Linked DNA regions of Homo sapiens: all the other regions are linked to region 6. The links are contacts of gene promoters, found by promoter capture Hi-C in blood cells and fetal thymus (Javierre and others, 2016). All regions are on one chromosome and are shown on one strand. Each heading gives the region's core, a stretch centred on a gene start or on the middle of the fragment in contact. The rest is flanking DNA. Distances are from core to core; before and after follow the strand shown.

Evidence for each region. The method cuts DNA at HindIII sites, captures the fragments that hold promoters and counts their contacts. A CHiCAGO score of 5 or more calls a contact.
Region 1: a contact is called between a fragment that was not itself captured here and the fragment with the promoter of FAM177B in region 6, in 1 of 17 cell types (monocytes). The highest score is 6.0, in monocytes.
Region 2: a fragment that was not itself captured here is called in contact with the fragment with the promoter of FAM177B in region 6 in 1 of 17 cell types (neutrophils); the score reaches 5.1 in neutrophils.
Region 3: a contact is called between a fragment that was not itself captured here and the fragment with the promoter of FAM177B in region 6, in 1 of 17 cell types (neutrophils). The highest score is 12.2, in neutrophils.
Region 4: a fragment that was not itself captured here is called in contact with the fragment with the promoter of FAM177B in region 6 in 1 of 17 cell types (neutrophils); the score reaches 13.6 in neutrophils.
Region 5: the fragment with the promoter of DEGS1 here is called in contact with the fragment with the promoter of FAM177B in region 6 in 1 of 17 cell types (neutrophils); the score reaches 5.6 in neutrophils.
Region 7: a contact is called between a fragment that was not itself captured here and the fragment with the promoter of FAM177B in region 6, in 1 of 17 cell types (neutrophils). The highest score is 8.3, in neutrophils.

Annotation. Positions count from the first base shown.
Region 1 is chr1:223,791,967-223,794,872 of GRCh38, forward strand. It overlaps TP53BP2 (tumor protein p53 binding protein 2), which reads right to left. Exons shown (of 18, transcript NM_001031685.3): 14 at 1,337-1,474; 15 at 423-556. Among named protein-coding and RNA genes, the nearest start is that of TP53BP2, 53 kb to the right of the region's middle. The HindIII fragment of the contact is 3,013 bases long and covers 133-2,906 here.
Region 2 is chr1:223,768,855-223,771,681 of GRCh38, forward strand. It overlaps CAPN2 (calpain 2), which reads left to right. Exons shown (of 21, transcript NM_001748.5): 17 at 987-1,055; 18 at 1,593-1,671. Among named protein-coding and RNA genes, the nearest start is that of CAPN2, 58 kb to the left of the region's middle. The HindIII fragment of the contact is 2,356 bases long and covers 231-2,586 here.
Region 3 is chr1:224,369,371-224,372,569 of GRCh38, forward strand. It overlaps CNIH4 (cornichon family member 4), which reads left to right. Exons shown (of 5, transcript NM_014184.4): 4 at 1,913-2,053. Among named protein-coding and RNA genes, the nearest start is that of CNIH4, 14 kb to the left of the region's middle. The HindIII fragment of the contact is 948 bases long and covers 1,063-2,010 here.
Region 4 is chr1:224,387,093-224,390,300 of GRCh38, forward strand. It overlaps WDR26 (WD repeat domain 26), which reads right to left. Exons shown (of 14, transcript NM_001379403.1): 14 at 1-2,768. The coding sequence ends at 2,743. Among named protein-coding and RNA genes, the nearest start is that of MIR4742, 9.6 kb to the right of the region's middle. The HindIII fragment of the contact is 966 bases long and covers 779-1,744 here.
Region 5 is chr1:224,181,785-224,184,773 of GRCh38, forward strand. DEGS1 (delta 4-desaturase, sphingolipid 1) reads left to right here and starts at 1,456. Exons shown (of 3, transcript NM_003676.4): 1 at 1,456-1,634. The coding sequence starts at 1,553. RefSeq lists enhancers at 632-781, 635-1,465, 1,042-1,131, 1,466-2,295 and silencers at 1,282-1,481, 1,582-1,961, 2,122-2,201. The HindIII fragment of the contact is 20,781 bases long and covers 1-2,989 here.
Region 6 is chr1:222,735,708-222,738,488 of GRCh38, forward strand. FAM177B (family with sequence similarity 177 member B) reads left to right here and starts at 1,495. Exons shown (of 6, transcript NM_001394345.1): 1 at 1,495-1,615; 2 at 2,197-2,314. RefSeq lists an enhancer at 737-1,278. The HindIII fragment of the contact is 3,071 bases long and covers 447-2,781 here.
Region 7 is chr1:224,405,472-224,408,284 of GRCh38, forward strand. All of the region lies in intron 7 of WDR26 (WD repeat domain 26), which reads right to left. Among named protein-coding and RNA genes, the nearest start is that of MIR4742, 8.6 kb to the left of the region's middle. The HindIII fragment of the contact is 3,893 bases long and covers 1-2,813 here.

The DNA of each region.
Region 1 (2,906 bases), core at 389-2,888, 1.1 Mb after region 6:
GGTCAAATATATTTAGGATATGTTGCAAGTTATAATCCCCTCTTGGAGATATAGAATGGACATTAATATATTGAAGACTGAACCATTTCAGGGGCTTAGGGATACCTTGCCTAAATCAGCACTTCTCTCTTAAGCTTTGCTTAAGGATGCTAATTAACTGTGTACTACTTTGTTACACTTATTTTTATCATTAACTACTAAACTTTTTAAAACTCCACCTACTTCCAGGATGGGAATGAGATGACTGTTACATGAACACATGTTAATTCCTCAAAAATAGATACCACATTTCTCCAGCTAGATTACAAGCAGCTCAAGGACATAACTGACATACTTCTTTGTCTTCCAACAGCACTATGACAACTGCTTATAAACCGATTCCCACAACTGAAGTTTGACTGGAGTTTAAAAGAAAATCTTACCATCCATCACTATCAGCAGCATTTACATTTACACCAAACTGTACCAGGAACTTAACGATTTCTGTGTGGCCTGCACACACAGCATTGTGAAGAGCCGTGATGCCTTCATCATTGGGGAGGCTTGGGTCATCAACCTATATCAAGAAGAAGGGTGAGCATCACTCTAGTTTCTTGTCACCTGAACTGTCACTACTAACTGGCTCCTTTAGGGTCAAGAGGACAGAAATGGACTCTTGTGACACTTTTAAAAATCATAATTAAAACCTATAGGAGCCAAGAAAACTATACCAAGAACAATTCTAGAAATAAGACAGACAGAAAAACCACATTAAGTAGGCAGTCACTATAAAAAGGTTTTTTTTAAAAAAAGGAAGTACCAGAAACTATATCCTTATAGTCATTTTTGTTTATTTATCCTCCCAGCTTCTCACCACAAATTAGTTTCTAAGTAGAAGTTGCATTTGCTATGGAAAGCAAAAAAAAAAAAAGGTCAACTAAAAATATTTTAAATAGTAGGCTTCTAAAAGTAGAGACCGCATCTCTAACCTAATACAGTATAGTACAAATCCATACATGAACAATTTCTAAAGGGGAGTAATGATCTCTCTTAAGAAAGAAAAGTACTCTAGAGGACTCCAAGTGAAAACCGAACTTCCAAATGATGACAATTCCATAGTCATACCTTTAAAACAGCATAGCCTATTCTAAAGCGTGCCCAAGAGTTCCTGAACACAACCCCACAATGCCTAAAAGGAAAACAATTTTAAAATACAATTTCTCTACAGTCGCTTTCTAATTAGAGCTTTAAAACAAAATACAAGGTCATATTTTAAAAATTTACTAATTATACTCTAGCCTGGATGACAGAGCGAGACTCTGACTCAAAAAAAAAAATTTACTAATTATAATCATACCTCATAAATAATTCTCTGTACAAGGTCAAATTCTCCCTCCAAAGACGAATCTAGCAGTAAAGCAAGGGGGTTGAATTTCACCCTCATTCCATGAGCGATACGCTCTGAGCCAGTTTTACGCAAGTTTGTCCTTTTACCCTGCAAAGAAAATGGGTGGAAAATTTAGGATCCTCGTCTATGCAAGAGAACAACAGCAGCAAATGGGAAGGAATGACTTCTCACCTAAATTAGTGAGAGGCACTTTAACAATATAGATTTGGCACATTTTATTGAAGTATAACATTATTCAGAAAAGTATACGAATCTGACATGCAGCGTAATGAACTTTCACAAAGTGAACAAATACCATGGAGCAAAGTTGGAGGAACATAACTTTATAAAATCTAACATAATTACGTTTGGGTTATATGTTATAGTATGAATTAAACTAAGAGTATAATCAGAAGTGGCAAATAGGCTAGCGTTCTGTCAAGTATCAGAATTAGCCAAGACTGGTCTTTAGACTGCCTATCTAATACAGTACAGCAAACTCCACTCTCTTAAAGTGAGCAACAGCACAGCCCACAACTACAACAGCTAACCTATATTGAATGATTATTCATTAACCCTCACAAAAACCCTATGATCCCTAGTTTACAGATAAGGAAACCAAGGCACACAGCCGGCAAATGGCAGAGCTGGGACGCAAATCCAGGTAAGCTGGCTTCTTTAAAGTCTGCCATCTTAACCATTTCACACCAGAATGCCTCCTCGGGGGAAAGCATATAATTAAGGTAAATAATACAGATTATTAGTCTGTCTTAGGTATAACAAGGATAAATCCTACCAGCTTAAACTTTTAATGAATCGGACTTAAAAAAAAAAAGGCAAAATTTTAAAGACTAGATCCAGTATCCTGTAAAACAGGTTTCTTAAACACACCCAACAAAGTAGAGACGTTTACTGTTGTGAGGTGTGATATATGTACTCCACATAATTCTTTCATTTTATCTCAGATGTGGAAAATTGCCAAGTTTTAAAAAACATTAAGCGACAATACATTTCACAATGTGCAATGACTAAAATGTTGCTCTCTGAATGTTATCTGACTGTGGTTAATACAAGTCATAAGCAGTACAGTGTAATGACACTTGCCGATCCCACTGTTAAAGAATGTACGAGATAGTTGCTTCTATTTTACTTAAATCGAGAAGGAAAAGGTAAGACACCTTCCTAGGAAGAGAACAGCAGAATCTTAAAAAGAAAGTATAATACTTTTACCAATTCTAGTTTTCCTTTTTTCTCCTTGAAAATGTGGATTATTTTGACACAGCAACAAAAAGGCCAGAAAATAACAAGTGGCTGTAACGTGGATTGGTTTTGGCCAATGTGGAATAAAACGTCCTTCTTTTCTTATGTTTAAAACTCAAAGAGAATCAAGCCTCAGAACTTACGAGGCACAGGGTTGTTTAAAAACTGTTAACCTCTATTTTAAAACTTTTTTTTCTAGCTTCAAATGTTTAGTACATAAAACTTTTAAGCAAACATTTACTGTAACCAATTGTTAAAAATAACTGTGGACAATTATTAT
Region 2 (2,827 bases), core at 159-2,658, 1.0 Mb after region 6:
TATTTCCTTGAGCAGTGGTTTGTAGTTCTCCTTGAAGAGGTCCTTCACATCCCTTGTAAGTTGGATAAGATCGTCTTCTTGATTTAGATAAGGGCTACTTTCATGAGGATCCTACTTCCCTTTTGCTCTAGCTCCTTCCCAGGCCACCCACCTTTCCCCAAGGCAAACTAGTCATCCATTTCCCCCTTGTTTCCAATGCTTAGTGAGAAGTGGTGGTAAGGGGCAGCCTAAGCTTCTGTGAAGTTTTTTCTGTTTGTTTGTTTAGTTGGTTGGTTGGTTTTTTGAGACGGGGTCTCACTGTGTCACCCAGGCTGGAGGGCAGTGGCATGATCTCAGCTCACTCGAACCTCCGCCTCCCAGGTTCAGGTGATTCTCCCCCCTCCAGCCTCCCTAGTAGCTAGGACTACAGGTGCGCGCCACCATGCCCAGCTGATTTTTCTATTTTTAGTAGAGACAGGGTTTCACCGTGTTGGCCAGGCTGGTGTCGAATTCCTGACCACAGGTGATCTGCCCACCTTGGCCTCCCAAAGTGCTGGGATTAGAGGTGTGAGCCACCATGCCTGGCCACTTCTGTGAAGTTTTATCTAGTGGATTCATGGTGTACACCTGCTAGCTCCCTTCACCAAAGGCCTCTTAGATATACTCCACATACTTTAAAAAAAACAGCAAGGGCCTAGCCACTAGAAGCCATCCAAAGCCCTCTGCATGTCATCCAATACCTCATTTTTAGTAGTATCTGGGGCCTCCACAGCACCCCTAGATCAAAACAGCAACCAGATTCGGCAGGGAGCCAGCAGGTCTTTCTCGCCCTTCCTCCAATCCTTTAAATGGAGGTTTAGCCAGTGGGAAAAGCAGGAAAAGGATCCTTCTGCAAACCCTCCTTGTGTATATGCTATGATATTCAAAAGATCCAGTTGAGAAGACAAACTAGGTGACACTATGTGCAAATGGACCCACACTCAAGGGCTTTCCTTGACTGAAGGCAGTCGGACGGGAGTGGCAAGCTGGGGCTGAAGGAGTTCTACATTCTCTGGACGAAGATTCAAAAATACCAAGTAAGATCCCAGAGATGCGGGTGGATCTGTGTTGGGAAACATTCTGTTCATATGCTTTAAGATGCAGCAACTCCTGCACAGAGTGGAGAAACATTTCCAAGGGGATTGGGATTTTACCCATAATGAAGCTCAGAGTGAGTAAAGATGGGGCTGAGGAAATGCAAACAAAAAACCAACCAGGACTTCGCAGGTGAAATGGCCTATTCCCTTCCTCCTGATTATTGGGATCATCTAAAGGCCACCATCAAGGGTTTCCTGAAAAGGGTTTTTGACAGCTAAAGTACAAAAATTATATAAGACAAGAACATGGACCTATGGGCGTTGGCTGGCTGATTTGATGGGCATATTTACAAACCAGCTCACAGACAGAAGCAAAATACTATTAGTTATTTAAGGCAGAAACATAAGTGATTCTTCCACGGCCAAACTAGAGGCACAGAGCTGGAAAAACTTCATCCCCACTCAGCACATACTAGGGAGGTAACTTGCCAGCTTTGCTTTGGGTCATAGTTCTTACAGCTAACTTATGTGTTCCAGAAAATTTACCGAGAAATCGACGTTGACAGGTCTGGTACCATGAATTCCTATGAAATGCGGAAGGCATTAGAAGAAGCAGGTAACCCTTTATAACTGCATTTTCGTTCCTAGTTTAATCTGTCTGTAGAATATGTGAACACTCATCTTATACCATATAACACAAGATTTGGTAAAGCTATAAAATAAAGTAGGTGCTGGTTTAATACAGACACCTCCTTTTCATTCCCCTTTCAAAGACTAATTGGTAAAATTAAATGCAGTAGGATGCTCTGCCCTCTGTGCCTTCTTGAATCCAAGTTTCCTTTGGAGCCGCCTGGCACAGTAAGCAGGCAAAGCCAGGTCTCAACAGCCTCCTCCAGGTGCTTCCTTTCTGGTGCAGGGTTGGTTAGGCAGAAATCAAATGTCTCAGCTCAGCCCTTAGGGTAAGACCCTAGCAGAATTGGATATCAATAAAAGGACACAAGCGAGTGGTAGACCAGCAAAGCAGGAGACTGCTGGGCTTTGGGAACAAATGTGTCAGCATGAGGCTGTTCATTCTATTTGCTGGAATATAATGCTGCTGCAGAGACCCCACACAACATTGGTTTATACGAGGTATGTCTTTCTGTCGTATAGCAATCCCAGCTCCAGCAGTCCACGGCTAGGACGGTGCCTCCTACTATCCTACCATGTCACTATCTGATCACGCTTCCCCCAGCCTCCCCCCATCCATGATGCCCACCGGACCTTCAAGGGTCACCCTCATCCAAGGGACCTGGGACAGCCTGCCACCACAAACACATGCCACCAACAGGTTGACAGAAGAAGGGCCCCTTGCCTTTAAGGGCACACAGGCCATTTCCGGTCACACATCCCACCAGCCAGACTCTGATCACAAGGCCTCTGTTGACTGCAAGGAAGCTGGGACATGCAGTCTTGATGCTAGGTGGCCATAGGCTCAATAAAAATTATTTTACTCTGGAAGGAGAGAGAACTACTATGAGTTTACCAGGAAAGCTTCTGCTCACATATATCCAGGAAGAATCTGATCTTCAAGACGATTGAGAGCTAAACAAAAAATCAAACAGCAGCAGCATGGTTAACAACATGAAGCAACTGTGACCATGAGAACAGAAACAGGCAAGAAAACACTTATGTGTCAGCAAAGGACACAGGCAGGGTGAAGGTGGACAGTTCAAAAACAAAAGAAACAGCAGAAGGTACTGGCTTTGCAAAATCAAACCAGTCTCACAGAA
Region 3 (3,199 bases), core at 287-2,786, 1.6 Mb after region 6:
AGGACCATCTTGGCCAACACGGGGAGACCCCATCTCTACTAAAAATACAAAAATTAGCTGGGCATGGTGGTGTTGGGCACCTGTAATCCCAGCTACTCCGCAGCCTGAGGCAGGAGAATTGCTTGAATCCAGGAGGAGGAGGTTGCGCTGAGCCGAGATCTTGCCACTACACTCCAGCCTGGGCAACAGAGCGAGATTACGTCTAAAAATAATAATAATAATAAACTAAAAAAGTATAACTGGATCGTTTGTAACACAAAGGATAAATGCTTGAGGTAATGGATACCCCGTTTACCCTGATGTGATTTTTTTTTTTTTTTTTTGAGACGGAGGTTTGCTCTTGTTGCCCAGGCTGGAGTGTGATACCGCAATCTTGGCTCATTGCAACCTCCGTCTCCCGGGTCCAAGCGATTCTCCTGCCTCAGCCTCCTGAGTAGGTGGGATTACAGGCATGCGCCACCACGCCTGGCTAATTTTGTATTTTTAGTAGCAATGGGATTTCTCCATGTTGGTCAGGTTGGTCTTGAACTCAACCTCAGGCAATCCTCCCGCCTCGGCCTCCTGGAGTGCTGGGATTACAGGTGTGAGCCACTGTGCCCAGCCTTACCCTGATGGGATTAGTACACATTGCATGCCTGTATCAAAATCTCTCATATAACCCATAAATATATATACCTACTGTGTACCCACAAAAATTAAAAATAAAACAAAAATACAAAAAGGAAAAAAAAGACAGCTAAGTAAGTGGTGGTAGGAAGAAAGACTGGACAAGGGTTTGATGGACTGGCTATGAAAGATGAGGAAGAGAGAAGTCCCAGTTGGGTAAGAGGAAGTTTTTAAGGACCACCAAGAAAATGGTGACACTCTTATTAGATAACCTAGAAATTAGACAAGGATGAGATGTTATCTGGATATTCAAATGAAAATACCCTCTATTCAGCTATAGTCGGGCTACTGGGGTTTTAAGGGAGAATTTCAGATTTGTGGAACTCAGAGAGTCCTTTGCATTTCAAAGAAGTGATAATTGAGAAGCTGTGTGACAACTAAGGTTGTACTAGAAGAAGCTTAGACGTGAGAGCAGGAAGAATTCATGGACAGTGCTAGGTTAGGACATATATGTTACACAGATGACACAGTCTGGATGTTGAAGCCCAGACACTTAAATTCATTGATCCTCTCAAAGTAACCTAACTTCCTTAATTTCCCTGTTTCCATAATGAAGTTTCTAAGAACTTAATAAAATTGGTTTGGGTTTGAAGCCTTCTTTAACCTTTGTCTAATGGAAAAGGGCTGTAGATGTGACTGGTATGGTAGTTTTCTACAGATGAGTAAAAGGGTTTCAGTGCATAAAATATCCTTTTCTGGAATGTTACTGTATTTATTTTACAGGGCAGAAGATTAACAGTATTATAACTTTCAAAAGGAAACTAAGTGGCAGCCCATGACATTATCATACTACTCTGTACATATGTGGTATGAATTTAAGGCTGCTATGATTGGCTCACTTTTTTTTTTTTTTTTTTTGAGATGGAGTTCTGCTCTGTCACCCAGGCTGGGGCTCAATGGCACGATCTTGGTTCACTGCAACCTCTGCCTTCCGGGTTCAGGTGATTATCCTGCCTCAGCTTCTCGAGTAGCTGGAATTCCAGTTGCCTGCCACCATGCCCAGCTAATTTTTGTATTTTTAGTAGAGACAGGGTTTCACCATGTTGGTCAAGCTGGTCTTGAACTCCTGACCTCAGGTGATCCACCTGCCTTGGCCTGCCAAAGTGCTGGGATTACCGGCATGAGCCACAGTACTGGGCCTGATTGGTTCACTTTTAAAAGTCGATTATTATTGGCTACTTATATTTGAATACTTATGCCTATGATTTGATTATCCTTCTAATGTGTGTATCCTTTAATTTATCAGATACATTATGGTGCCGAGTGGTAACATGGGAGTGTTTGATCCAACAGAAATACACAATCGAGGGCAGCTGAAGTCACACATGAAAGAAGCCATGATCAAGCTTGGTTTCCACTTGCTCTGCTTCTTCATGTATCTTTATAGGTGAGTTTAAAGTCCTGGTATTTTCCTAGATGCCATATTTGTTTTTGAAGGGTGAGATATTACTATACTATAGGATTTTGCATTGACATTGTGGAACTTTCGGGGATTATGTAAATTCCTTGTGGCTGTGTAGATTATTTATGTATGTCATTGAATCAGCTTTCTGTCTGAACTACAGTAGATCTACCCTGTTGCATCTTAGTTATGCCTTAGCTTTGAGGCTATCCACATGCTTAAAACAGGGCACGGTGACTTACGCCTGTAATCCCAGCACTTTGGGAGGCCGAGGAGGGCAGATCACCTGAGGTCGGGAGTTCGAGACCAGCCTGACCAACATGGAGAAACACCGACTCTACTAAAAATACAAAATTAGGTGGGCGTGGTGGCACATGCCTGTAATCCCAGCTACTTGGGAGGCTGAGGCAGGAGAATCACTTGAACCTGGGAAGCAGAGGTTGTGGTGAGCCAGGATCGCGCCATTGCACTCCATCCTGGGCAACAATAGTGAAACTCTGTTTCATATTTTTTTCCTTCCCTAGTAGTATACAGCTGTGGAGTTCCACTGCCTGTTATAAGCATTAATATATGTGCCTCAGCGACCATCCCACTCATGGTCTTTGGGGGATCACACCACTAGCAGCAGCTCTCAGCAACTTTTATCCAAATTGTGCTGATCTTTCTTGGCAATAAGTAATTTAGGTGTGATGCTCATTCTCCAGCATGCTAAATGTCTATTATGGTAAAGTTGTATCAGTCTTCTAGTTATAACACACTGGAAGTAAGAATTAATATGATAGATTGGCTGTCAGACATTGGAAGCCTTATATAGTCCTGTTTTAAATTATTCCTGTGTGTTTTAGAGGTGAACATGCCACCTTTTCCTTTATCCATCATAGATGCATAGAATAGAGCAAAGGAGAAAAAAAAATTCCTGTGTATACGATTTGATTAAACCTTTGAAAAGCTAGAAGTCAGGCTTAACCTTTGTATCAAAGCTTTAATTAGATCATTTTTATTTTTTCTCCTAGGTAGAGTTTAATTTTTCACATAGGCATAAGGACTATTAGGAAAAACTTATGTTGAAGTAAACTTCCACCACTCAGAAAATTCTTGATTAGAAACTGTATAGAGATAGCAGGGGTTTTT
Region 4 (3,208 bases), core at 12-2,511, 1.7 Mb after region 6:
TGATTTTTGGAGCCCAAATTCTCCACTCTATTTTGATCTATGTGCAAAAAGTATTGGTACTTTTCAATTTATACATTTGTTAGTATCTTGTGGCTGGCTTCATAGTATAAGACTCACTCTTAAGCCTACTATAGAGCCTACAGCACTATCAGAAGTTTTCAATTAATAGCTATGGATCAGAAAATCCTGCGATCAGTTTCTCATACCATAAAATCCTAGGCTTCTTTACCATTGATTTCACCTTTCGAGCACAGTCACTGCATGGCAAATGTATGAAACAGACGTTTACAGCAAATAAGTACCAGTATGTACAGGAAGCTGCCAGTTAAGACAGACCCGGAAAACAAACTCACCTAGCTGCTATAGAAACCTTTGCATAGTTGTTACTCCGTTTTAATAGGAGTTATGTTCTTGTAAAATGTGCCTCACTTTTACTCCACTTTTTAAAAAGTGTTTTTAAACTGTACTTCAGAAGCACTCTGAAAACTCAGATCTAGGGGTGGTTAGGTGAAGTAGAGTAGAATCTGAGTGCCAAATTGCCCCTGAATGGGCACAAATCTGAGTGTTACAAATGCACCGTAGCACACTGTAACCAAATTTGTAAACAGCTGTGGAGTTTCTATGCCCACATTTAGTGATGTTACCATAGAGACTGGGGTGTATTAACGGCTTCAGGGTATACATGAATCACTTAAAATATGAATGGTTTTTAACTATACTGAGGTAAAGAGAAGTTGCCACTTAATTACATACAGTTACCAATGAAGATTTTTATTCAAGCTTAAAGTAAAAAGTAATTTTAGTTAAGAAAAATGAAGTACCAGATAAACTGTAACATATATTTTAACTTAGAAGTATCAAAACAGGAATTTTTTGATTCTCTAAGTGGTGGTCTCTGCAAAATGGAGCTTGAAGAAATCTTTTACATACCAATTTGATAAGAGTCTGCTGACCACGATCTGTCATTTTCTTTACTATGGGCTTCTGGGAGAATGCATGCTATTTTAAGGCCAAATGTGTTTTTCTTTCTTCTCCCCTTCCCTGACTTTTCCCTTTCTCCCATCCCCGACCACCTACCCCACAATGGAAGAATTTTTGACATCCAAGCCCTCTTCTCTTTGTGGATTCTGGAGTCTATTCATGATCATAATTATATTATAGACTTGGCTACACCTAAAGGGGAACTTAGTACAAGACTTTTTCTTCACCAGAATCTTATTTTGGGGGTATCCCCATTCTCATTCCAACAGCTGGAGTCACCCTATTTATCCTCTACTGAAAAAGGGAGGGAATTTCAAGGGAGACTATGTTATGTTGTATTCAGCTGTTACGGAGTTTAAAAGCACAATGTGAACATCAGGCTTTTGGCTTATTTTAAATGTGAAATTCTCAAAATTAAAAGTGCTTTTCCATGAAGGAAACCTTTCCTTAAACTAAAACAGGAGGGGAGAGGGAAAGACTATCCACAGCACCAGTTTAGAATGAGGTTCAGTATGGCAATATCTGAAAAAACTGAGAAAAAATATTCTTTAAATTTATGTATCCCTATATGTCAAAATATTAAGGGCAATTAAGAAAAATGACTATGAGGTTTTAATCCCAGTTTAAGTATGTCTGTAACCTGCTGAATTCTTCTAATAATTTCAATTATACTATAAACTTCCAAAGTGGTTGTATCGCTGATTCCTACTCTTTTGCTAGATCACACCAAAATTACTTCCTAAGTTGAGAACAACTTGGAACAAGCTTTACTGAAAACCAACTGACTACTGATGTCTCATGTTGGTGTATTTAAAATTCTTTTTGAATCTTGAATTTCTTCAAGATCGGGTACTGATGTTCCTTCAGGAATAAAACAAAAGGGGGGAAATCTTCAAAGCATTACTCTGAATTTCTTGTGTAATGTCCTTCCAAGCACTGTTTCTGACCATGTCTCATGTGGTATTCCAGAAGAGCATCAGTTATACTGTGTATCTAAGTCATTGAGGAAACTGTTTTTAAGCTGGTTTAGATTCCAAATGTATACAAATGAAGTCACTTTAATCCTATAAATACTTCTTAATTTATTTTTAAAAAATTGTGCTGTTAACCCTTTTACGGGGCAACAAGCTATGTGAAAAGTACAAAACTTTTTGTCAAATGTAATATTGAGAGTGCTTTTGACATAGTTCACTGGTTTATCATCTGGATCAGTATATACTGCGCAACGGGCAAGGCTAGAATCCATGAACCAAGCTGCAAAGATCTCAAGCTAAATAAGGCGGAAAGATTTGGAGAAACAAAAGAAGGAAATTCTTTCCTATCCAATGTATACTCTTCAGACTAATGCACTCTTTCTATCAAGCCTTCTAAACTGTTAAATAAAGTTTTCCAAACAAGCATTTAAACTTCATTACACAGAAGAGCAACAAGAATGGTATCCTGCCAGACAAAAGACAGGAAGGAAAAAAATATATATACTGAGTTCAATGGGTAAGCCTGAATGTAGCACAGTTCTTCACAACCGATGGGGGAATAATTCAACATGGTGTCCAACAACGTTCTAACGACGTGCTTCATCTCAACTGGTTACTATGAAGCAAGGTGTAAATGTTTGGCCCCAATCGGGCTTCAGAAATGGTTCTTTTTTCATGACGAGCATGTCTGTCCAGCTATCAATCATGTTTGTTTGCACCAAATCCCAAGCCATTAAAATACGACTAATTTTAAGTTAAACAGAAGTCGTCTGCTCCAAATTCACCATCAACTATCCATGCTACTGCATTCCTCTGAATGAAGACAAGATGAAATGTATGGGGGGCGGGCGGGGGAGGGAAGAGGGGAAGGAGAGAAAAAAATTACCAGTTAGAAAGTTTCAAAATTAGCATTATGACATTACAAAATTATACTAACATTAAAAAATCAAAGCAAATTCTTGAAACTTTCATCATACTCATTAAAACAATGTCTGTATCATGTCTTAGACCATATATTATGATCTAAATTCATGATTTTGAATACTGAAGAAACCCAAGTGAATAATCATGTTAGAATCTCATGCTTTTATTTTTTTGAGACAGGATCCCACTCTGCTGCTCAGGCTGGTGATGTAATTTGGGCTCACTGCAACCTCTGCCTCCTTGGCTCAAGTGATCCTTCCACCTCTGCTTCCTGAGTAGCCAGGACTACAGGCACATGCCACCATGCCTGGCTACTTTTTGTATTTTTT
Region 5 (2,989 bases), core at 206-2,705, 1.4 Mb after region 6:
AAGAAATTCATAATTCCTTAATATCATCACATATCCAATTGATATCTGAGTTCAATTATTTCATGTCAATGTTTTTAAACTATTTCAATCAGAATCTAAATGAGGTCAACACGTTGCAATTGGTTGGTATGTCTTTTAAACTCCTTTTAATCTACAGGTTTCTCTTTTTTTGCCTTGAGTTTCATTTATTAGAGAACCCAGACATTGTCCCATATAGTCTCCCAGAGTTGGATCTTGCTAGTTTCATCCCCACGGCCTAGTTTAACACATTCCTCTGTCCTTTCTATTTTCTTTTTTTTTTCTTGAGAGGGAGTCTCCGTCTGTCCCCCAGGCTGGAGTGCAGTGGCTCCGTCTCAGCTCACTGCAACCTCTGCCTCCCAGTTCGAGCGATTCCCCTGCCTCAGCCTCCTGAGTAGCTGGGATTACAGGCGCCTGCCACTACGCCCAGCTAATTTTTTTATATTTTTAGTAGAGACGGGGGTTTCACCATCCTGATCAGGCTGGTCTCGAACTCCCGACCTCAGGTGATGGACCCGCCTCTGCCTCACAGAGTGCAAGGATTACAGACGTGAGCCACCGCACCCGGCCAAATGTCCTTTCTATTTTCTATAAATTAACAGTCAGATCTAGGGGCTCGATCAGATTTGTGTGTGTGTGTGTGCCGTGTGCGCGTGCACAGCATGTTCTTTGACTAGGAGGCACACCTGCTTTGGTTATCTTCTTTTTGTAATCTTTAAGTTGCTCTTTGATGTAGACGTGGTAACTAATGTTGAAACAAAATTAGTTTCGTTTCAAAACCTTTCTTTCAGGAAGAGGTTGTGGTTGATTACTTCTGCGACAGGTAGATGCAAGGTTGAGCAATCATCTCTTAACAGAAGTGGTCACACTAGAATAATTCAAGCACAACAACAAATCCCACATCATCACCCCCTCTTAATAATGGTGTTTTCTTTTTACTTGATTAGCTTTTAATTGTCACGCACTCTGCATTTTTTCCCTGAGGTATTATTTCCAGAAGGCAGCGAAATATGACTCAATGGCTAATTTGCTTTTTAAAAATTAAACAAAACTTAGGCCAGCTGCCATTTAAGAAGGGCTCCGGGGCCTCCAGACTCGGTGTGACCGTAGCCGTGCCCGGTGCTCCCCTCGCGGAGGCGTTAGGGCGGCAGGTTTATCTCACTTGAGACCATTCCTTCCTTTTTCATCTTCTCCGGGCTCCGGCGCAGCAGGCCGCAGGGGCGGGCACTCGCAAGAACGCGGCATCCTGGATGGTGGCCGAGTCACCGAAGCTCAGAACCCCGCGTCCCAGAATCGCTGAGAGCCGGCCCCGCACGGGGGCCTGGGAGCGCCACGCGCCCTCCACCCAGAGAGGCAGGCGGGCGGGCCGGGGGGGGCGGGGCCTCGGGACTCCGCCCACGCCTCCGTCTCCTCCGCGCTCCGCCACAGCCGGCCGACACCACACCAGCCGGGGAGCCGCCGCCGCCGCCGCCACCTCTGAGCAGCCGGCTGGGAGCGAGAGCCGACAGCTAGTCTGCAAGCCACCGCTGTCGCCATGGGGAGCCGCGTCTCGCGGGAAGACTTCGAGTGGGTCTACACCGACCAGCCGCACGCCGACCGGCGCCGGGAGATCCTGGGTGAGGGCCAGCGGGCGCCCCGTTATGTGCGTGCGTGGCCTCCCGGCGCCGGGGCGCGCTCTCCCCTCGCGGGCCCTGCGCGGTCGTGGGCGCCGGAGGCCCGTTAGCAGCCTGCTCCCCGTCGCGTCCCGTCGCCGCTCGGGCCGCCAGCCCGCGGGTCAGCGCGGGAGAGGCTGGGCGAGGAGCGGGGGGAGGGACGGGTCCTCGGAGCCGCGCAGCTCCGACCCTTCCGCGAAGAGGCGCAGGCGCGTCCCCGAGCGCGGGAGTCCCCGCCAGGCCCACGCCGGCCGGTTGGGGCGAAGGGTGTCCCCGGCTGTGCCAGCCTTGAGTAGATCTTTTCGCTAGAAGATTCCTGTGCCCTCAGGTGGGCGCCCTTTCCTCTCACCACTCCCTCTCCTCCGGAGCGGGCCGAGGTGAGCGGGTGCCGGCCTTGGGGCTGCCTGAGTGCTAGGCAGGGTGTGGTCCTGGGCATCCTTGGGCCTACCAGCGAGCCCTGCTCAGGGTGTCGGGCGCCGGCGGGCAGTACTGGCGGGGGCGGCCGCAGTCCCGGCCTTGGGCCCGTTAAGGGGGCCGGCGTCCCTCCATATGCCCCCCGGGGCTTCTCGGACTTGATGGGCCCTGGTCGGTTCACGCCGCTTGTCCCATTGATCCTCACGACAAGCCTGGGACGTAAGAACGGCGGATTCGTAGGCATTTTTCATCCATCTCGGTTTTGTGGATGAAAAGACTGAAAATGGAAGACTTGCCAAATAAGGAAAATATGTGGCGTGGCCTGCTGGTCCCCTGACAGCTAATTGAGAGGCCTTAACTCTCCAGAGGATTCGGGCCTTCTGTGTTACATAGAGAATGCTCATCTCTCCCAGGCTACTCCTAATATGCTAGGGATTGTGTGGAATGCTTTACAAACATTACCCAATTTCATCCTCTTGGTAATTCTACTTGGTTGGTATTATCGCTGTTTTAAAAAATGAAATAAGAACGCGTGACTAAATGCTAGGGGGATTCTAATGCGCATTCGGTTGCCTCTTCCAGAGCACGTGTTTGTTTTTTGTTTGTTTGTTTTTTGAGACTGCACGTGTTTGTTTTTTGTTTGTTTGTTTGTTTGTTTTTTGAGACTGAGTCTCACTCTGTTGCTCATGCTGGAGTGCAGTGGCGCGATCTCCACTCGCTGCAACCTCTGCCTCCTGGGTTCAAGCGATTCTTCTGTCTCAGCCTCCCGAGTAGCTGGGATTACAGGTTCCCACCACTACGCCTGGCTAATGTTTGTATCTTTTTTAGTTAGAGACGGGGTTTCACCATGTTGGCCAGGCTTATCTCGAACTCCTGACCTCAGGTGATCCGCCCGCCTTGGCCTC
Region 6 (2,781 bases), core at 245-2,744:
GCTAAGCTAAAGAGTGTATCATTATCGCTGTACAATAATCTGTAGAAAACTCTATTCCTTGCAAACTTGAGGCAGCACTTTTAGCGTTGTATAAATGCATGCAGAAATAATACCATATTCAGAATTCTTTCAGAATTAGAGTACTCATGCTTTAGAAAATACTGGGTTTCTTATCTCTTAATGTGTGTAAAATAAACTTGGAATGTCACTTTGGGTTACCATAAGTTTGTATCTAAAGATTTTATTTGACATTTGAATAATTTGCTTAAAATTTAAATATTTAAGAATGTTATAGTAATAAAGGGATCAAAATAGTTAATCTGGAAGGGGAGTTGACAAATTATAAAACAGAAAACTATATTTGATTGTGCATATCCAAAAAGCCAGAGCTATCACTTCAGCAATTTAATGTATCTAATGCCTGTGATTTGCTTGAGGTCGGTAGAAGCTTATATAGTCACTTTCAGAGCACTCCCCTGAGAAAATGTCAAGACTTGAATTTGCTTCTCTAATGCAGAGCTTCTCAAGTAGTTTGTCTCAAGCTATTGATCGAAGCCTTCTGGGTGTCTAGCTGGGCAGCACTTAAGGTGGCTGGAGCTCCCAGGCTGGTCGCCTCCAGAATTCCAAACAACTAATTTTCTCTATCTGCCATGATGTAAAAAATGCTGTGAAACACCACAGTGGGACAGGCATGGACAGGCATGCAGGCAGTGGGGTGCATGTATGTGGTTTAATACTGAAAATAAGGATACAAAAATCCTGCCAGGTGATGCTCCTGTAATTCTCAAGGAGCGGCAGTGATTTGTTATTTCACATTTTTCCTCACTCTATCCTTGCCCCTGACACACACACTGCAAGTCACTGATTGGAGCAGGCCAGTTCCTTCAGGTGAAGGGGCCTAGAGAAATGTCGGTGAATACCCAGTGAATACCACGCTGTGAAACTCTGCATCTGAGGCACGCAGTGGGGCTTTGGTTCTCTCCTCTCACCAGGGGTTTGACCTTTCAACCACCTCAGAAAAAAGGAAAGGTGGAAGCAGGAAGGGGGACCAGCAGCTCCAGGCAAGCAATGCTAATTAGCTCCAGCGTAATGACCCAACATCAGTTCTTAGCTGAATTTTAACAGTCCATTTGAAAACATTTTCTAGATAAATGAAAATGGAAAGAGCTCTAGAAAATGTTTAAGTGTTACATACTTAAAATAGTATATTTACTTATTGAAGTTAAATGCCAAGATGTAGAACTAGTGTGTTATTTTCTTGGTACAGATTACAATGCTGTGTTTCAGTGAAGGAGCTAATTGAAATGATTAGTAGATAGATGTAATCAGAAAAATATTAAATGAAGATAGTAATTTCTAAAGCAGGAAATAAAGACAGTTACAAGTCTGTTCTTATTTTTCCAATCTGTTATATAACTCCTCCCACCCATTAACCTTAACTAAATGTATGATTCATTTGTTAAACAAATACTGAGTTCCAGCTACGTGTAAGGCATCATAGGGGCAGAAGATACAGCAGTGAACATAACAGGTAAAACCCTCCCCCTCTGCCAAGGGGCAGGACAGGGAGGAAAGGGAAGACAGAGACAGGTGGAATATGGAGTGTTCAGTGTTGGTAAGTGCTAAGGAGAAAAAATGAAACAGGAGGTAAGATGCAGAGGGTGGTGGTGAAGGCAATGGGAGGTTGCCTTGAAAGCGGAGCTCAGTGTAGTCTCCATTTGAGTTAAAGACTGGAAATGAGCAAGGAAACAGTCTAAGGAAAGAAAGACTAATAGAGCAGCCAGCAGAGAGCTCTCTGCAGAGAGAGAGGGCGGACCTGTGTGGTCAGGGAATTGCAGGAAGAAGGCCCGTGGGGTTAGAGTGATGTCAGTGGTGGGAGAGTAGTACAAGATGGCGTCAGAAAGCTCGTAGGGGTTAGGTATACAGCCTTGTAGGCCATTATGAGGAGTTTGGCTTTTACTCTAGGTGAGACGGGAACCCACTGGAGAGTTTTAAGCAAAGACATGACATGGTCTCACTTAGGATTTAACAATTCTGGCTCCTTTTCGAGCGTAGACTGGAGGGGGCCAATTAGGAGGCTGCTGCAATAATCTAGGTGAGAGACGACGGCAAGGGTGAGAGATGATAGACCAGGGTGGTAGCAGTGGAGTAATGAAAAGTATGATTCCAGAAATATCCAAGACAATTTCCTGGCAGATTTGATGTGAGGTGTGATTAAAGAAGAACCAAGAATGACTTTAGTGTTGTTGGCCTGAGCAACTGGAAGAACAGAGTTGCCATTTATTGAGATGAGAAGGCTGCCAGAAGAGTAGAGGTAAATGTGTGAGTATGTGTGTGTTGGGGGGATGGAGGGAGAGTTGCACTGAAAGCATGAGCAAAGATTTAGACAAATTAGGATTGAGATGTCCATTAGACAACTAAGAAGAGATGTCAAGCAGGTAGTTGGATCTGTGAGACTCAGGGAAAAAGTCTGACCTGGAGAATATAAATGTTACAATCATCTGTGTGTGGATAGTATTGAAAGCCACAGGGCCAAAGGAGATCATCAAGAAAGCAGATAGGAAAGAGAAGAGGTCCAATCACTGAGCCCTGGGGTAATACAATATTTAAAAGGTCAGAGAGATTATATGGCCTGTTAATTACATTATATACTTAGGAACTATCCTTCATAGTCTGTATTTGGGGTTTTTAAGAAACAAAAGGTAGAGGTGCTCCCAAGAATTAAACTGAGCCGGGCGCAGTGGCTCATGCCTGTAATCCCAGCACTTTGGGAGGCTGAGG
Region 7 (2,813 bases), core at 95-2,594, 1.7 Mb after region 6:
TTTAACATTTTGAGAAACTGCCAAACTGTTTTCCAAGTGGTTGCACCATTTTACAATCCTACCAGCAAAGCTACCACTTATTAATGCTAACCACTACTAGCACTATTCATAAACAATACTTCATTTAATTCTCACAAATCTAGAATATTACCCCCTCTCATATTATAGGGAAAGAAACGAAAGTTTAGAAAGGTTAGAAACATGCCTGTTTGTAGTGCAATGGGGATTTGAATCTGGGCTGCCTCACTTAAAAGCCCATATTGTATGCTATGCAAGCTGAACTGTGAAGTGCAAATGTAGACGTGGCAAGTGACAAGGCTGCAAGAGTTGACATGTTTGTTGTAGGCTAAGGGGTTACATTTTCCCTGTGTGTGAAAAGCCACTTAAAATTTGTAAGCTAGGGAATATACAGTGTGATATTTGGCTTTAGGAAGAGAACTAGGATAACAATGTGGAAGATGAATCAGAAAGACACAGGATAAGGCAACCATAAAGGGACAATGGAACCATAATGAGCCATACATAGTTCACAGTCAGTTCCCAAAAAATGAGGCCCTAACGTAAGATGTTAAGGACTAAAAGAGGTCAGAATCAAAAGATATTTTGGGCTGGACACTATGGCTCATGCCCATACTTTGAGAGGCTGAGGCTGGAGGACTGCTTGAGTCCAGGAGTTCAAGACCGACCTGGACAACATAGGGAGATCCCTGTTATAAAAAGAAAAAAAGATATTGTGGAGATAAAAATGACATGACAGAAAATAACAAAAAATCTTCAAAGACAACCTCCAGATTTCTGGTTTAGGGGATAGGGATGGATGTTTACAAGAAATAGAGGAAGTAAGAATTTGACTAAAGGTGGGAAGAAACAGTAAGTTTTAGACTTTAGTCTTAAGATTTATTGAGTTTAGCTTTGAGCCTGGGGGGATGGGGGGGAAATTCCAATGGGATGACCCACCAGCAGTTGAAAAAAGTTGGGAACTAGTCTGATAAAATTAGGTTGGAGATTCCTCCCCTCCTAAGAAATGTCATTGCAAAATGGATTATGTTTACACTATTGTTTCTTCACTGAACCCTAAGTTTATCATTCATACAATTATCTAGTCCAAATCACCATTGTTTTGATAAAATTGAATAGTTAACAATGCGACTACTTCTGATTCTTCTTTGGGAAGTGGGTAAGAGGTATTTGTATTAGATCAGCAATATCATTAGGTCAAAATGGTTTAAATAATTTACTAAGCAAGTCAAGTCTTCCTGACTAGCTCAAGATCTTCCAGGAACAAATTTTCATTCACAGTACTGCCCCAGATCAACACAAAGATTTGCTTTTAAACTGAAGACAAACTCCTTTAGAAATATTTAACTCAGCCAGGTGTGGTGGCTCATGCCTGTAATCCCAGCACTTTGGGAGGTTGAAGCAGGCGAACAGCTTGAGGTCAGGAGTTTCAGACCAGCCTGGCCAATGTGGTGAAACCCTGTCTCTACTAAAAATACAAAAATTAGCCGGGTGTGGTGGTGGGTGCCTGTAATCCCAGCTGCTCGGGAGGCTGAGGCAGGAGAATTGCTTGAACCCGGGAGGTGAAGGTTACAGTGAGCCAAGATTGCGCCACTGCACTCCAGCCTGGGCGACACAGCGAGACTCTGTCTTTAAAAAAAAAAAAAAAAAAAAAAAAAAAAAATATATATATATATATATATAACTCAAAAACTTTTATGTACATGAATGAAAAAAATATAATCCTATAAAAGATAAAGTTGAAAACAAAAACAATACTATATCTTCATTAGCACAGTGCCTTTATACTAATTTATTCAAAGTGGAAATAACATGTTTGTGGAGCCTATATGACCTTGCTTGGATTCTGCGGGGAATGGGTAAAATTCATCTTTTTTAGGCAAAGAAAAACTGTTAAAGGAAAGTAGGCATTGGAATCACATCAACTCAAATTTTAAGGCTCTCTTAAATGTACTTTTTTCTCTCCATTAAAACACACACACACGTTCAAAAAGGGCATATATATATATATACATATATAAATTTTTTTTTTTTTTTGAGATGGAGTCTTGCTCTGTCGCCTAGGCTGGAGTGCAGTGGCGCAATCTCAATTCATTGCACCCTCCGCCTCCCAGGTTCAAGCAATTCTCCTGCCTCAGCCTCCAAAGTAGCTGGGACTACAGGCACGCACTACCATGCCAGACTAATTTTTTTTATTTTTACTAGAGATGGGGTTTCACCATGTTGGCCAGGTTGGCTTGAACTTCTGACCTCAGGTGACTCACCTGCCTCGGCCTTCCAAAGTGCTGAGATTACAGCGGTAAGCCACCGCACCCGGCCAAAAAGAACACATATTTTCTTATAATTTTTTCAGACAGTATTTGACATAACAAAAATACCATCATACCAAAAGAACCAAACAGTCCCAGAGGACTCACTATAATACAGCTATCTAAAAATTACAGTCTCTAAAAGTCTCTCTGTTTCATATTGGAATGTAAGCATTAACTCTGCATTTCCCAAGCTAATCTGGCAACAAAAGCCCTTTACATGTAACACCTATTAATTCTGCATACCCATTATTCCTGCAAAAACACTCTGGGAAACACTGGCATAAGAGTCTAAACTTCTTAGCAAAGAATACAAAAGCTCCTCCTTGATCTGGCTGCTATTTAATTAACCTCAACTCTAGTCTACCTAAAACTCTTCCCCCAAACCACCTAAATGCCATGTTACGTTTTCTTTTGCCCAAGGGCCTATCCTAACTAGTTTTGCCTAAATAGTTCTTTACCTCTTCTTCACCTAATATTTACTTT